5 separate regions of the Homo sapiens genome follow, and regions 1, 3, 4 and 5 are each linked to region 2. The links are contacts of gene promoters, found by promoter capture Hi-C in blood cells and fetal thymus (Javierre and others, 2016). All regions are on one chromosome and are shown on one strand. Each heading gives the region's core, a stretch centred on a gene start or on the middle of the fragment in contact. The rest is flanking DNA. Distances are from core to core; before and after follow the strand shown.

What was found. The method cuts DNA at HindIII sites, captures the fragments that hold promoters and counts their contacts. A CHiCAGO score of 5 or more calls a contact.
Region 1: a fragment that was not itself captured here is called in contact with the fragment with the promoter of GLRA1 in region 2 in 2 of 17 cell types (total CD4 T cells and naive CD8 T cells); the score reaches 5.4 in total CD4 T cells.
Region 3: a contact is called between a fragment that was not itself captured here and the fragment with the promoter of GLRA1 in region 2, in 1 of 17 cell types (naive CD8 T cells). The highest score is 6.2, in naive CD8 T cells.
Region 4: a fragment that was not itself captured here is called in contact with the fragment with the promoter of GLRA1 in region 2 in 2 of 17 cell types (total CD4 T cells and naive CD8 T cells); the score reaches 5.6 in total CD4 T cells.
Region 5: a fragment that was not itself captured here is called in contact with the fragment with the promoter of GLRA1 in region 2 in 1 of 17 cell types (naive CD8 T cells); the score reaches 6.4 in naive CD8 T cells.

The regions. Positions count from the first base shown.
Region 1 is chr5:152,173,957-152,176,656 of GRCh38, reverse strand. The region is part of intron 1 of LINC01933 (long intergenic non-protein coding RNA 1933); the gene reads right to left. Among named protein-coding and RNA genes, the nearest start is that of LINC01933, 220 kb to the right of the region's middle. The HindIII fragment of the contact is 3,862 bases long and covers 1-2,700 here.
Region 2 is chr5:151,923,405-151,926,104 of GRCh38, reverse strand. GLRA1 (glycine receptor alpha 1) reads left to right here and starts at 1,254. Exons shown (of 9, transcript NM_000171.4): 1 at 1,254-1,611. The coding sequence starts at 1,556. RefSeq lists a silencer at 762-974. The HindIII fragment of the contact is 1,526 bases long and covers 441-1,966 here.
Region 3 is chr5:152,126,097-152,128,796 of GRCh38, reverse strand. All of the region lies in intron 1 of LINC01933 (long intergenic non-protein coding RNA 1933), which reads right to left. Among named protein-coding and RNA genes, the nearest start is that of LINC01933, 170 kb to the right of the region's middle. The HindIII fragment of the contact is 624 bases long and covers 1,071-1,694 here.
Region 4 is chr5:152,104,823-152,107,522 of GRCh38, reverse strand. The region is part of intron 1 of LINC01933 (long intergenic non-protein coding RNA 1933); the gene reads right to left. Among named protein-coding and RNA genes, the nearest start is that of LINC01933, 150 kb to the right of the region's middle. The HindIII fragment of the contact is 3,521 bases long and covers 1-2,700 here.
Region 5 is chr5:152,068,687-152,071,386 of GRCh38, reverse strand. All of the region lies in intron 1 of LINC01933 (long intergenic non-protein coding RNA 1933), which reads right to left. Among named protein-coding and RNA genes, the nearest start is that of LINC01933, 110 kb to the right of the region's middle. RefSeq lists a silencer at 416-656. The HindIII fragment of the contact is 6,897 bases long and covers 1-2,700 here.

The DNA.
Region 1 (2,700 bases), core at 28-2,527, 250 kb before region 2:
AAAAAACAATTATTTCTGGCACATGGTATATAATTAATAATATTTTTCTATATGTATAATTTGTTCTGGGAATGTATACCTGTCCTCCCAGAACTTACTGTCTCTTGAAGGAGACAAGTAATTACAAGACAATGAGATCAGAGATGTAGTGGGATAAAGAAAGGGATAAAATGAGAGGGTACAGGACAAACCGTGAAGTCATAATGGGGAGGTCAAGGAAAGTTTCTAGGAGAATGTGAAGACTGAAATGAGATATAAAAGATCAGCCCATCAAAGAGTAGATCGGCCCAGGATTAAAAATCTCCAGTGTCAGAAAAGGTACAATCTGTGGAGAAACTGAAACTTCGATATGGTAACAAAACCAAAAGAGAAGATAATAACAATAATAGCCTGGAAGCTGTAAAGCAAAAAGAAAAGTGATAAATTCATTAGTAGACTCAAGAAAGCAGAATCCTAAGGTGGTGGTGGAGAAATGAATAAATGAACAAGTAAGCCACTCAGTTTACACTGAAAAAACACTCAGAGATTGGTGGTACCAGGACCTCTGGAAGGAAGCAAAGTTACAGCTGAACACAACAGGATAGGTTGCAAGTAAATTTAGGTAGTAGCAGAAACTGGCAAAATATTGACAAGTATTTAATTGGGGTTTATACTCTTCTCTCTACTTTGATATATGTTTAAAACCTTTCTTAATAAAATGTTTTGAAAGAGAAAAGTTAGGCCTCCAGATGTCTTCCTCTAATCTATATGGTTGCAAAATTGCCCCTAATCAACTTTGACAGAAAACTGAAAGTTTATTCTAAAAGAATGAATAAAACAAAGATCTCTGAATAGGAAGATATTGGGAAGAGTTTAAGAGGAGGGTATTACACACGCAACAAGGACACTAAGAGAGTAGTAATATCCTGACTACTGAGGCTCCTGTTTTCTCTGATTGGACTACCAAAACAATGACAGCAAAATCCTTCAGACAAGATTTTACCTGAAGAATCTAACCAGCTCAAAACACTCAAAGAAGCCAACATTAGGACTTCTCTCATAAATCTGAGCGATTAAAAAGTCAGGAAACAACAGATGCTGGAGAGGATGTGGAGAAATAGGAGCACTTTTCCTCTGTTGGTGGGAGTGTAAATTAGTTCAACCATTGTGGAAGACAGTGTGGTGATTCCTCAAGGATCTAGAACCAGAAATAATTTGACTCACCAATCCCATTACTGAGTATATACCCAAAGGATTATAAATCATTCTACTATAAAGACACATGCATACATATGTTTACTACAGCGCTATTCACAATAGCAAAAACTTGGAACCAACCCAAATGCCCATCAATGATAGACTGGATAAAGAAAATATGGCACATATACACCATGAAATCCTATGCAGCCATAAAAAAGGATGAGTTCGTGTCCTTTGCAGGGACATGGATGAAGCTGGAAACCATCATTCTCAGCAAACTAACACAGGAACAGAAAACCAAACACTGCATGTTCTCACTCATAAGTGGGAGTTGAACAATGAGAACACATGGACACAGGGAGGGGAACATGACACACCTGGGCCTGTTGCAGGGTGGGGGGCTAGGGAAGGGATAGCATTAGGAGAAATACCTAATGTAGATGACAGGTTGATAGGTGCAGTAAACCACCATGGCATGTGTATACCTATGTAACAAACTTATACATTCTACACATGTATCCCAGAACTTAAAGTATAATTTTAAAAAAGAAAAGAAAAATAAAGGATTGAGCTGATCCTGGAATGAGCCCAGTATTCGGTCAAATGGGAATTCTAGGCAGAAAAATCTTCAAAAGCAAAGGCCCAAGATATGAAAGAGCATGAAAGATTCAAGGACTTGTGCATGAGTCAACATTGATTCAACATGAGATACAAATGCAGAATTAGTGAGAAATGACCCTGGAGGAGAAATCAAGGCCAGACAAGGCTAAGGAATTAGATGCATTTATTGGTTTTTTGTTTTTGTTTTTGTTTTTGTGTGTGTGTGTGTAGGATGTAGACAAGTAAAGACTATTACAGACTTTTCATCAAATGCATTTTTTAGAACGATCACTGGCTGCACTTTGGAGGATGGACAGGAGGGCTAAGCAGCAGGCAGGAAACCAGGACAGGCAGCTTGGTCCATGTGGCAGGGAGGAGGGAGAGACAGTACATGCAGAGAAGGAAAGTCAATCAAGAGGCATGTAAGAGACAGAGCCTACACATGTAGAAAGCTGTTGGATGTGGAAGATGATGGCTGAAGAGTCTACAACAGTATCCAAGTATCCAGCTTGCGTTATATGTACTTGTAACCGAAGGTCTCTCTCTAGATCTTCTATACCATAGTTTTCTAACTTCAGGTCATAACCCATTAGTAGGTTGTGAAGTCAACTTACTGGATTGGAGCCAACATTTAAAAAAAGAAAATAGGAAAATAAATAAATAAAATAAAATAGTCCAATCTGATAACCTTAAAATGGAAACACACATGTACGTAAAACTTCCAATTAGTTTTTGTTCTCATCTTTAACTATGAGCAGAGCACCAAAGATGACTAGATATCTGAGGAGAGACCCTAAAATGAATGGCACACAAGATAGCAAACAAACAAATAGAAAAAAAAGCAAGTTGGTGAAACAAACACCGTGCAGGAAGATGAAAACCTCAGAATACAAAAACTGTCATGAATATTCTCAGAGACAG
Region 2 (2,700 bases), core at 5-2,504:
CAGTTTCCCCAGCATATAAAAGGCGAATAAAACTGTCTCCTGTCCAGTTGGAAGAAGGTGCTTTTATTCCCTCTCAAAAGGGTGCCAGCCACAACACCTCCCACTCAACGCTGGAAACTGCTCAAAGAATTTCTCTCGTATTTCCCTGCTGCGGTGACCCTGGAGGGGGTCTTTATCCACCAGACTTCTTTTTGGATATTCCTCCTTTCTTTCTAGGGCCAAATATTATAACTTCAGAGCTCTTTTAAAAAAAATCAGGGATCTGGTTCAACTCTTCCCTTTTAAAAGGATAAATTGAGCCCAGAGCACGTCTTAACAAGGAACCATGTGTTTTACTCACATACAACTGCATTCTTTAAAAATCAAGGCAACCTTTTGAGAGACCTAGAGAGATTAATTCCATATCCTCTCTCACCCCACCGCTTACACGGAAAGAAGCTTGGGGGTAGGAAGGGGATTGCGCAGATCTCGTCCAGCACTCTAAGCGTTAAATTCAACCCGGAGTCTAACAGGCTATTGGCCGAATACCGGGAGAAGATCTGGTTTTCGTAGCCGCGGGCCAATGAACACCTCGAGTGGGAGGGTTTGAAGATACTAAGGAGTTTTCCCCCTTTTTTTTTCCCCCTCAACCCCCTCCCATCGGCTATCACCCCTCCCATCCCCCACGCCTCCAGTTTGTTAAATTAATGCAGTAAGAAAGTCTGAAGATCTGAAGGAGTCTTGACCAAGGGAAGATGAGCGAGCTCAGAAAACCGAGATGCATCTGAGACATTGGGCTTCAGAGCCCCGCGGGGTAGCCAGGGACCCCGGTAGCCCCTGAAACTTGCCCTGGGCTCTCTGACGCCTGCGGCCCCGAGCAATGGGACACCTTTTCTGCAGTGATCACAACTTATTCGGCGGGGACCGGGAAACAGGAATAGCAAGGCGACAGCAGACCCGCACAGAGGCAGGAGAACGAGATTCCGAGACTGGATTGCGATGCGCCAGCCTGGCACACTCTCCGAGATTTAACTGAAGGCAGCGCCGTCAACCGCTTTCCCCTCGCCCCTAACCCCCTCAGGCCGGCCCAGAGCCATAAAGCTCTGTTCTCTTTACCCAAGATGCTCGCCCAATCCAACGGTCCGAGGCCAGCGCTCTGATCTCCACAGAAGATTTTTTTCCTTGCAGGGAGCTGGCCGTTTAAACAGAAAAACAGGGGTTTAAAAAAAAAAAAAAAAAAAAGGAAATATACCCACCCCCAAACGTGCCTCCCCAGCGCCGCAGGGAGCCAACAGACACGCTGGAGTTTAACAAACAGCAATACTCTTCGCGCTCCTGAAAAGCAGGTCTGGACGCTCTCCGTGGTGCTGAAACGCCTCGCAGCCGCCGCTGTCCGTGGTATCTACGACCCCCTCGCTCCAATTTCCCCTGGGGCTCTCCCTCCGCGCCCCTGTTCCCCGCCTCCCTTTAACATCTGGATTATTTTTTGCAATAGCGCTTTCTGGTTTTGTAAGTGCCAATTTGAAACATTTTTGCCCCCATAACTCGTGGACTACAAAGCACAAGGACCTGAAAAATGTACAGCTTCAATACTCTTCGACTCTACCTTTGGGAGACCATTGTATTCTTCAGGTATGCAATTTTCTACTGACCACATCGCTCTGATGGAAATGGGGGGAAAGAGTACGGAGGCTACCTCTGTCCGTGGTCCCATCATTTTGGGGAAGAGGGGTGCTGTATTCCACTGCAATCGGGTCCTTCCATCCCCCGTCTCCCTTCTCCCCCCTCCCACCCCCCGCCACCCACCCCACCCCCGCCCGCAGGGTGTCTGGCTTGTGCGTGGAGGTCTGAGACAGTCGCTGTTCTGGCAGCTGTTTGCCTGTTTCTTACGGTTTGTTTGTCCTTCTGTCTGCTACACCCCCCACTATTGGTCCCCAGCCCCACTGCATGTTGGCTTTCACTCGGCTGAGGACTTTAAAGGGAAGCTTTAGGAGTTACTCAGTTTAATTAGGACTGCATTCTCCCTAACCGCAGTGCCGAAAACCTCAGCTTTCCCGTCTGGGAGCCAAGTGACAACTAGCGGTGACGGGGAAGGTTGCACTCAAACTCGCTGGACACAGATCATTTCATTTTCTGTCCTTTTTTGCTGTTGTTTTCTTTTTCTGCGAAGAGGGAGGGGGATTACTAAGGCTGAGTGCTTGGAAACAATAGTATTATAACCTCAGTGTGTAAAGCCCTGAACTTGGGTGCAGAGTGGATCTATTTAGGAACATACTGGGAAACATTTCCCTTTTGAAACTTTGACTGCCTCTTTCCCCAACCCACCTTTCCAAACTCTGTTAGCTGCAGATCCTGAACTCATGAGCAATCTTCATTTGCTTTGTTTTTAAATTTATGCTTATATTTGACTCAACAGCTGAGTTATCCCATCCACTGTCTCTCAGGTTAAAATTTTCTGCCTGAAGACTTGTCTTTCTTATGTTAGTAGAAGTGAAAAGTGAAAAATCACCTCTTTAAGAAGCATTGAAATAGATAGTCCTTTAGTAAGTGTGTGAATCATACCATCTTCAGAGATGGCTATGATAAATTCCACTTATATGAATTGAAAAACATTATTCTTCTTCCATGACATGCAGGGATCATTAATCTTCCTCATTTTAGATGCCTGCCTCTCATATTTTACTGTGGCATTGGATTAACAGTCATTTGAAAAACCCACCC
Region 3 (2,700 bases), core at 133-2,632, 200 kb before region 2:
AAAAAAATGACAAAACTGGGCATTTTCAGAAAGGGGTAAAATTGGGTAAGAGCCAGGGAGGAAAAATGGAGAAGGGATGTGACTTGGAACCCGTGGAAGGATGGCCAAGCTGCATGGAGGATCCAAGGAAGATCACAAACCCCTAGAAATACTCACCGCATTATATTCCAGATTATCTCCACTCGCATAGATGGAGTACATGCAATCACTGCTACTCTCTGAGCCCATCTCTTTGAAATCAAAGGCACACATTTGCAAAAGAACTATCCCAGTTTATGGCAATCATGCTTAGCTATGAAAGAAGTTGTTCCTAAGAGATTCGTAATGAAGACTGAACGCTCTAACTTAGCCTCATCTACACAGTCCTCTACCCTCCTTAGATAACAACTTCACAGTAACTAGTTTCTCTCCCATTAATATTCTCCAGTGAACATCACTTGAAAATATTAGCTCTTCGCCAGCCAGCCACACCCACCCAAATGCACTGATATATAAAATAGGACCCTTGACTTAAGCAGATTCAGCCGCTATTCAGGAATAGGCCTACACTTCTCTTTAACTGGGTCCTTAAGCAGTCTTAAGATGCTGTTGACACTCTAGATCAAGGACTAAGATGCAGTCAGAAGTATTTTTTCTATCTCTGGACTGGCCCATAGACTTCTGTCTTTGAATTTATGGTATTCAGTACACTGTGACTTAAATGGAAAGGTTTGGTATTAAATCAACCAGTACGAACTCATTATCTATCTACTACATGACAGACACTATGCTAGGTGCTCAGGATGCACCCATATACATCACAGACATAGTCTCTCTTATTGTGATCCTTACAGTGTAGTGTGAAGAAAGTCAATCTTACTGATAAGGTCATCAGTGAAGAGGTCGTTAAGAGAGAAAGAGGATCTCCAGATTGGACAGTTGACATGAAAAAGTACACTTGGACTGGGATTGTAAGCTGGACCCAATGTTCTAAAATCCTTTAGCCCCATTTTTGACAGTATGAGTGATGATATTAGATGGCCTCCTAGCCATGAACAGTTTATTCATCCTACTCATCTCTGTGTCAAGCTTACAAAGGAAGTCTAATCCTTGGGTTGGGTGATGTCTCCTTATGAACTTATAGTAAAACTAGTGTTAAAAAAATTTCCAAACAAATATGGACTCCTACACTTAGAGAGGATTTTAGAGCCAATTTATTGCCCTTCTGGTGTTTGAATCTCTCATATAACCTTCTAAACAAGTAGTCATGCAGTCTCTGATTGAATACTTCCAGTAAGGAGTAACACTACCCCCAAAGATCACCTACCTTAACTCAAAATTTACTTTATGTTTAGGCCGGACGCAGTGGCTCACGCCTATAATCCCAGCACTTTGGGAGGCTGAGGCAGGTGGATCATAAGGTCAGGAGATCAAGACCATCCTGGCTAACATGGTGAAACCCCATCTCTGTTAAAAATACAAAAAAAGTTAGCCAGGCATGGTGGCGGGCCCCTGTAGCCTCAGCTACTCGGGAGGCTGAGGCAGGAGAATGGCATGAACCTGGGAAGCAGAGCTTGCAGTGAGCCGAGATCGAGCCACTGCACTCCAGCCTGGGCGACACAGTGAGACTCCATCTCAAAAAAAAAAAAAATTTACTTCATTCTTTGAATGGAATTTTGTCTTCCTGTGTCTTCTACCCATTTTATCCCTAAGCTTAAAAGGCACAGAAGCATCAGTTATACAAGACAAGCTTACAGGATTTGTGGGTAGGTGACGCCATTTACTAAAATCATTAGCACAGCTCTTAATCTTAGGCTTACTTATACACATTTCCAGGAGAAGCAAAGAATATACATTCTCACTATTACCATCAGCGAATGAAGAAACACGCTATGTGTGTATATGCTAAAACAAAATCAATTATAATGGAACGTTTGGAATAATGACTGTCTGGGAGAAAAGAACCAGAGGTTCTCACTTATCTGCCAATGTGACAGATGTGGCCTGTCTTTTGAGCCTAGCTCTCTCTGTCTTGCCCACTCTTCTTTCCTTTATTTAGTTCCTCACTCGATGAACCAACATGTACCAAATTATCTATCTCCTACATGCCAGGTACTAGGCTAGATGCTCAAAGTGAGGTGTATCGCTTCACTCTCCTGACCCACGCAGGCAGTCAGATCTCAAGATGCAGGTTCGGAACAGGAGGGAGAAAAATTCCCTTTAGATCTCAGGCTCATGCTGTGTACTCTCAGTTTGCTAGTGTTCTGCACTGGAGTAAAATGATGCCTGTTTTCTATTTAGCACAGTCTCTCGTAACTGTAAGTCCCTTAGGAGACACAAGGCATAAAGAATATGGATCAGAATGCAATGTAAACATTCCTGTATCCCCTAAGAAAATTCTATACAGCAAACTTTCCAATTCTATATTATCCCTTAACCAAATCCTTTATTATTGGAAGGCAGAGTAATTCTGAATCCAGGGCATTTCTTACACTCCAGTTTTTCCTCATCCCAGCTTCTGGTGGGTTTATGTCTTGAAAGTAAACCAACACGGAAAGAATTCTCACTGAGAATTCTATAAGCCACTGGAAGGCAAAGCTGTGCACATTCCAGTGGGGAACTAAAGAAAAACGGGTGCATTCTCCCCTACTTTACCCCTAGAGCCCTCACACAGTGGCAAAAGAATCAGTAATTGACAGAAGTGGAAACTGATTTCCTGGA
Region 4 (2,700 bases), core at 191-2,690, 180 kb before region 2:
AAGCGTGGTACATTACAGAAGTGCTCCTCCCCCTTCTCTATTGCTCTCCCAAGACATTACCCCCTGCCATGAGCAAGTGGGAGACCTAGACGTTGCTGGTGGAGTCTGGTGTGCTGTGCTTGCAGGAACCCTATTAGCAATGCACAGAGATTGCCTGAGCCAGGCAGGAGGAATAGTGCCAAAGGCTTAAGATGCAGGGGGACAGTGATCCACCCACGCATGGGAGCAGACACCACACAAAGTGTGAGGGTTTTTGGAGTCCTTCTATGTGCATTGTATTAGATGGTTCCTATAGAAACCCTGCAAAGATTTCTCTTCTTAAAAGAGCAGGAAGCAAACTCAGAAAGGTTCAGTGATTTGCTCAAGGTTACACAGCAAACAAGATAGAAAGTGCTGGTTCTCAAGGCTAAGAATGCTGGTTTTTGCTGCGGCTTTTTACATTAATAAAAATAATCCCTGTTTATAACATATAAAACAGTCAAACATTAATGTCTCTGTGTTGGACACTTAGACACCTGCCCGATATCCATCCCTAACTTTTGTGTTACAAATGGAATCTCAGGTCTGCTCAGGGCAACAATGACCCCAGTCTGGAACAACAAATCATTGGTCTGAGACAGTTTTTCTCAAAATCTAGTGTATCTGAATCACCCAGAGAGCTTGTTAAAATACAAACTGCTGGGCCCACTTCCAGGGTTTCTGATTCAGTAGGTCTGGGGGATGGCGGGGAGTGAGAATTTGCATGTGTAACAAGTTCCTAGGTGATGGTGATGATGCTGGCCTGGAGGCCTCACTGGGAGAGCCACTGGCACACACTGATCATGACAGTCCTGGCTCCAGCTTGCTTGCAACCAGGTGTGGCTATGTCTCTCAGCACTTTCAGCACATAAAGAGAAGGCTACTGGGGACTTCAGGAACATTTTCCTTTCTCGATTAAAAAAAAAAAAAAAGGTAGGTATAGTTGATGCCACTATAACCTCTTTGTCCTGCTTTGTCCAGAGATGTGATGCCTGGGACTGCAGCAGACATTGTGTCCCTGAGACAACAAGACAACATTTTAGGGAGGGGTGGTGGCATAAAAGAAACATCTGAGTCATTCAGGACATAGTTGAGGCCCTGCGTTAGCCCTGGACAACCTATCTCCAAACTTCTTCCTATTTTAGGAACTTGAACAACCTTTATTGCTTAAGCATCATTAGGCAGGTACTCTGTTACCTGTAGATAAAAGCAATTATAACCTTTACAAAAAGTTTCTGCAAAACAATTTTTTTAAATAATCAAACAATGGCAATGAGTGCCTCCCAGTATGCAAGTCATCTTTATAATCATTGGTACATTTTGTCCTTAAAGGAACCATAACATTCGCTTATTTTTTTTTCTACTGGTAGGGATACCTGACCGAAAAAGTTTGAAATCCATTGCCAAAAAGCATGCTTTGAAAAATACTGTTCTTGGTATTAAATACCTTTTTAAAAAATTAATACTGAATAAAATATGTGGACCAGGAGAAAAATTTCCTGAAGATGTAGGGTTAATTTCAATTCCATCTTTACAGACCCATCATGCCTAATATGCAATAATTACCCCCACAGACTAGTTAGGCAAAATGAAACTCGACCTTCTGGACACATTTGTTACCAGATTAGAGAAATTACTAATTACTGTGTACTCCAAATGTGTTCCAAGAAACTGAAGTTCCATAAAATACTCCACCACAAAAAAAAAAAAAAAAACTTTGAGAAATGATGCAGAAGGTACAAAAATACATGTTAATATTAACAGCTCTAGGCCAGGCGCGGTGGCTCACACCTGTAATCCCAGCACTTTGGGAGGCTGAGGCAGGTGGATCACAAGGTCAGGAGATCCAGACCATCCTGGCTAACACGGTGAAACCCTGTCTCTACTAAAAATACAAAAAATTAGCCGGGCATGGTGGCAGTCGCCTGTAGTCCCAGCTACTCAGGAGGCTGAGGCAGGAGAATGGCATGAACCCGGGAGGCAGAGCTTGCAGTGAGCTGAGATCGTGCCACTGCACTCCAGCCTAGGCAACAGAACGAGACTCCATCTCAAAAACAAAAATAAAATAAAAAATAAAAAAAAAAATTAACAGCTCGGAGAAGTCCTGTGGTAGAAAAATTATATTCTGTCTGATGAAGCCTTTCCTAAACTTACTTGTTCACAGAACACTTTCCTCCTTGATACCCACTACTCCCTTTCAAAACACTTGAAAAAAATGCTGACTTAATAAAATGGTAGTCAAGACTATCTTTTGGCATAAACAGAGCATGGTAGAAAGCTGTAAGTACTGCTGTTGATCTACTTGGGTTCAAATCCCAGCTCTGTCATGTACAGTCACTGATTCTAAGGTGCATATTTTTTCACATTTATCATTTCTTAAAATCAGTTACATGTTTTAGTTTTATTAGCAGCATTTTTTAGTGTAAACAAAGTAATGGTACATCTTATAATTAATGCACCATTAGTTATTTAGCAAGATATTTAGACTTGGTAAAATACAGTACATGACTTTGAGCTAGTCACTTAACCACTGTGCCTCAGTTTCCTCATTGGCAAAAGGGAAAGATTACTGCATAGAGTAGATGTGTAAGTTAAATTGTTCCTGGCACAATGTAAGTGCTCAGCAAATGTTAGCTATCCTGATTAATTATTTCAGGAACACTAAAAGGACACTCCAAATCA
Region 5 (2,700 bases), core at 198-2,697, 150 kb before region 2:
AATGAATGAATGAATCCCCACAGATGAGGAACCCAAAGTCAAGACTTGGGCAATGTTTTCCCCAAGTCCTAAGTTAGCACATATCAAAGATGGGTCTCAAATGCAGACCTAAAGTTGAGGAGGGCAGGTGGACAAGGACATAAACCACAGTCTGTGTTCTACCCTCCTAGCCAAGCCTCACCCCCTCCAAGAAGCATCCCTTTATCTGTTGTATACAGAGTTCATTAAAAAAGAAAGGGTTATTCTGTTAAGTAAGAGTTAAAGATTTCTGCCCTACCCCTAGAAGGTTCTCATACAGAATACTTCACCCCCAACTCTATGGATATCCAAGTCAGGCTATACAGGAGTTGTTCCCACAAAGGAAGATTCAATCCCATATTCTCAAAGCTAGTTCTCATCAGTGGACAATCAAGAGGCCCACGGACCTCTTGATTAGTGGGCCTGAGCTGGAGACAGCAGGTTTTGTTTTGCCCAGCCAAGTAGTCAGCACTCCTAGCATCCACTCAGTGCTGCCCAACCTGGGGAGTGAAAGCTACAAAGTCAACTTGAGCTGCTTGGTAAAAATCCCATGTACCAGAAGATAAGACTGACAAAGAAGCAAAGTTAATCTTGGAGCTCTCAGCATGATCAGTGAACCAGCCTTTGCCTAGGAGTTACCGCAAGCAGAGCTGTGTGTTGAGTGTGATACAAGATAGAGGAACCAGTAAGCAAAAGGCTACCACCAGCCCTGTGGGAAATTCAGGTAGAGGCAGGTAATCCAGGCAGGGGTTCAGGCACAGGGCACCAGGCAGAGAAAAGTTTCAGAACCAAGTCTCCAAAGTAGGTGTGGGAATAGGTGCCATACCATGTCACTTTAGGGCCTGGGTTCATGTCATTTGAGCCTAAGAGTAGGTTTGGCCCTCACCATGAAGATGAAGCTGAGATCCAAAAGGATTTTCCAGGGTTGAGGGCAGGGCCACCTTATTTATTGATGTGTCTCCAACATCTGGCAGAGTATCTGGCTAGTGTGTACAGACTGAGTTTTTTTGAAAAAACAGAAGGAAGCAGGTCCTGGACGTCAACCCAGGAGTTGATCATTATGGTAATTTTGGCCATTATTAATTGAGCATTTACTAAGTGTCAGCACGGTGCTAAGTACTTCACACCCAGAATGATTCTGAGAGGAATGTATTACAATCCTCACCTGGCATTTGAGCAAATTATGGCTTAGCAATGTAAATAACTTGCATAAAGACACCAGGCCAAGAGATGGTGGAGCTGGGTTTCGACTTCAATTCTCTGATTTAAGCATCTGAGCTTTTAACTGTCATATTTTTCCGTCAACTCACTGAAATAAGTTACAACTAAGGAATGAGTAGCTTTTGTGTAGAAAGAGGAAAGAAAGGCTGCTTTTCCTAGGGATTCAAAAAGCACAGGACTAGATAGAAAATGGGAATGAATATAAGGAATTATCTCTGATTCAACTTCACCATTTCCTCCCAAAGAAGACTTCCCTGATTCTCCTTACAAAGTAAGGTTCCCCTGTAACACACTTTGAGCACCCCTCCATTCTTTGTAGCCCTTACTACCATTTTAACGAAACAAGCAACGGTGAATGGAGTTGTTTAAATGTTTGTCTCTCCTTATGGATCATAGGTCCATGAGGGAAGGTGCTGTGACTATCTTGCTCCTGCTGTACCCTAGTGTGCAATACAGTGCCTAGCATATAGTAGGGCTCAGTAAGTATTTGAACATGTGAGTTATATAACTGGTTGATAGATAATGGGATAAAAAGCATTCTAATGGCATATACTAAGGAGTAATAGGAGATGAAGACAAATGGAAAAAGATTAAGACGTTACTTGAAGACCCTGGAGAAAAGCCTCATGTTGATGTTGCAGGTAACAGGGAACTACTGTAGTCCCTTGAGCTTCTCTGAATAAGGAAGACTAATAATATTGAGATGAGAAATAAATCAGCTCAGGGAGAACTGATGCTCTACCCCGAATATTATGAATACTCCAAACAGGACCAGTGCTTGAGGTGGCAAGGGTCTCATGATGGTAGCAGTGAGAATGCAGAGGAAGACATAAATCAAGGGGACATATGGATGCAGGTTCTTCCCGGAACGTTTCTCATCAAAAGTTAATAAGCAGGTAGGGACATACATCTGGGTTGGTGGAAGACACAGGTGGCGATCAGACTTGGCCGGCTCTATAAACTCTCTTCCACCCATAGAAGATTACATTTTACTGAAACTCAGGTGATGTCAAAGAGGGACAGAAAATATATTCTGTTATCATTCGTTTCTAAGTCTTATGCATGACCAGCCAGGAGTAAAAAAGAATATGTTTCTTAAGGTTCTCAGAAGGCTCAGAGCCATTTCCCAATGAATCATTTACTTATCCACATCTCTAAACCTACAGTTCTAGATCATTGACTTTGGAGCAGGAGTACTCCTAGGGCAAGCCTCTAATCACCATACCCCTTTCACTCTTGAATCAAGAGGGAGCCATTTAAGCAGCAAGCCTTCCAGTTAAACTCTTAAGTTGCTTGCTTGTCATGCAGAAGACCTGGGTTCAAGTCCCAGCTTTGACATTTATTAGCAGTTAATCACCATGCACATTAGCTAGTGATATACAAAACACCACTTAGAGATCAATGAACTAGAGCAATGGTACAGAAACATGAATCGGGCCGGGTGCAGTGGCTCACACCTGT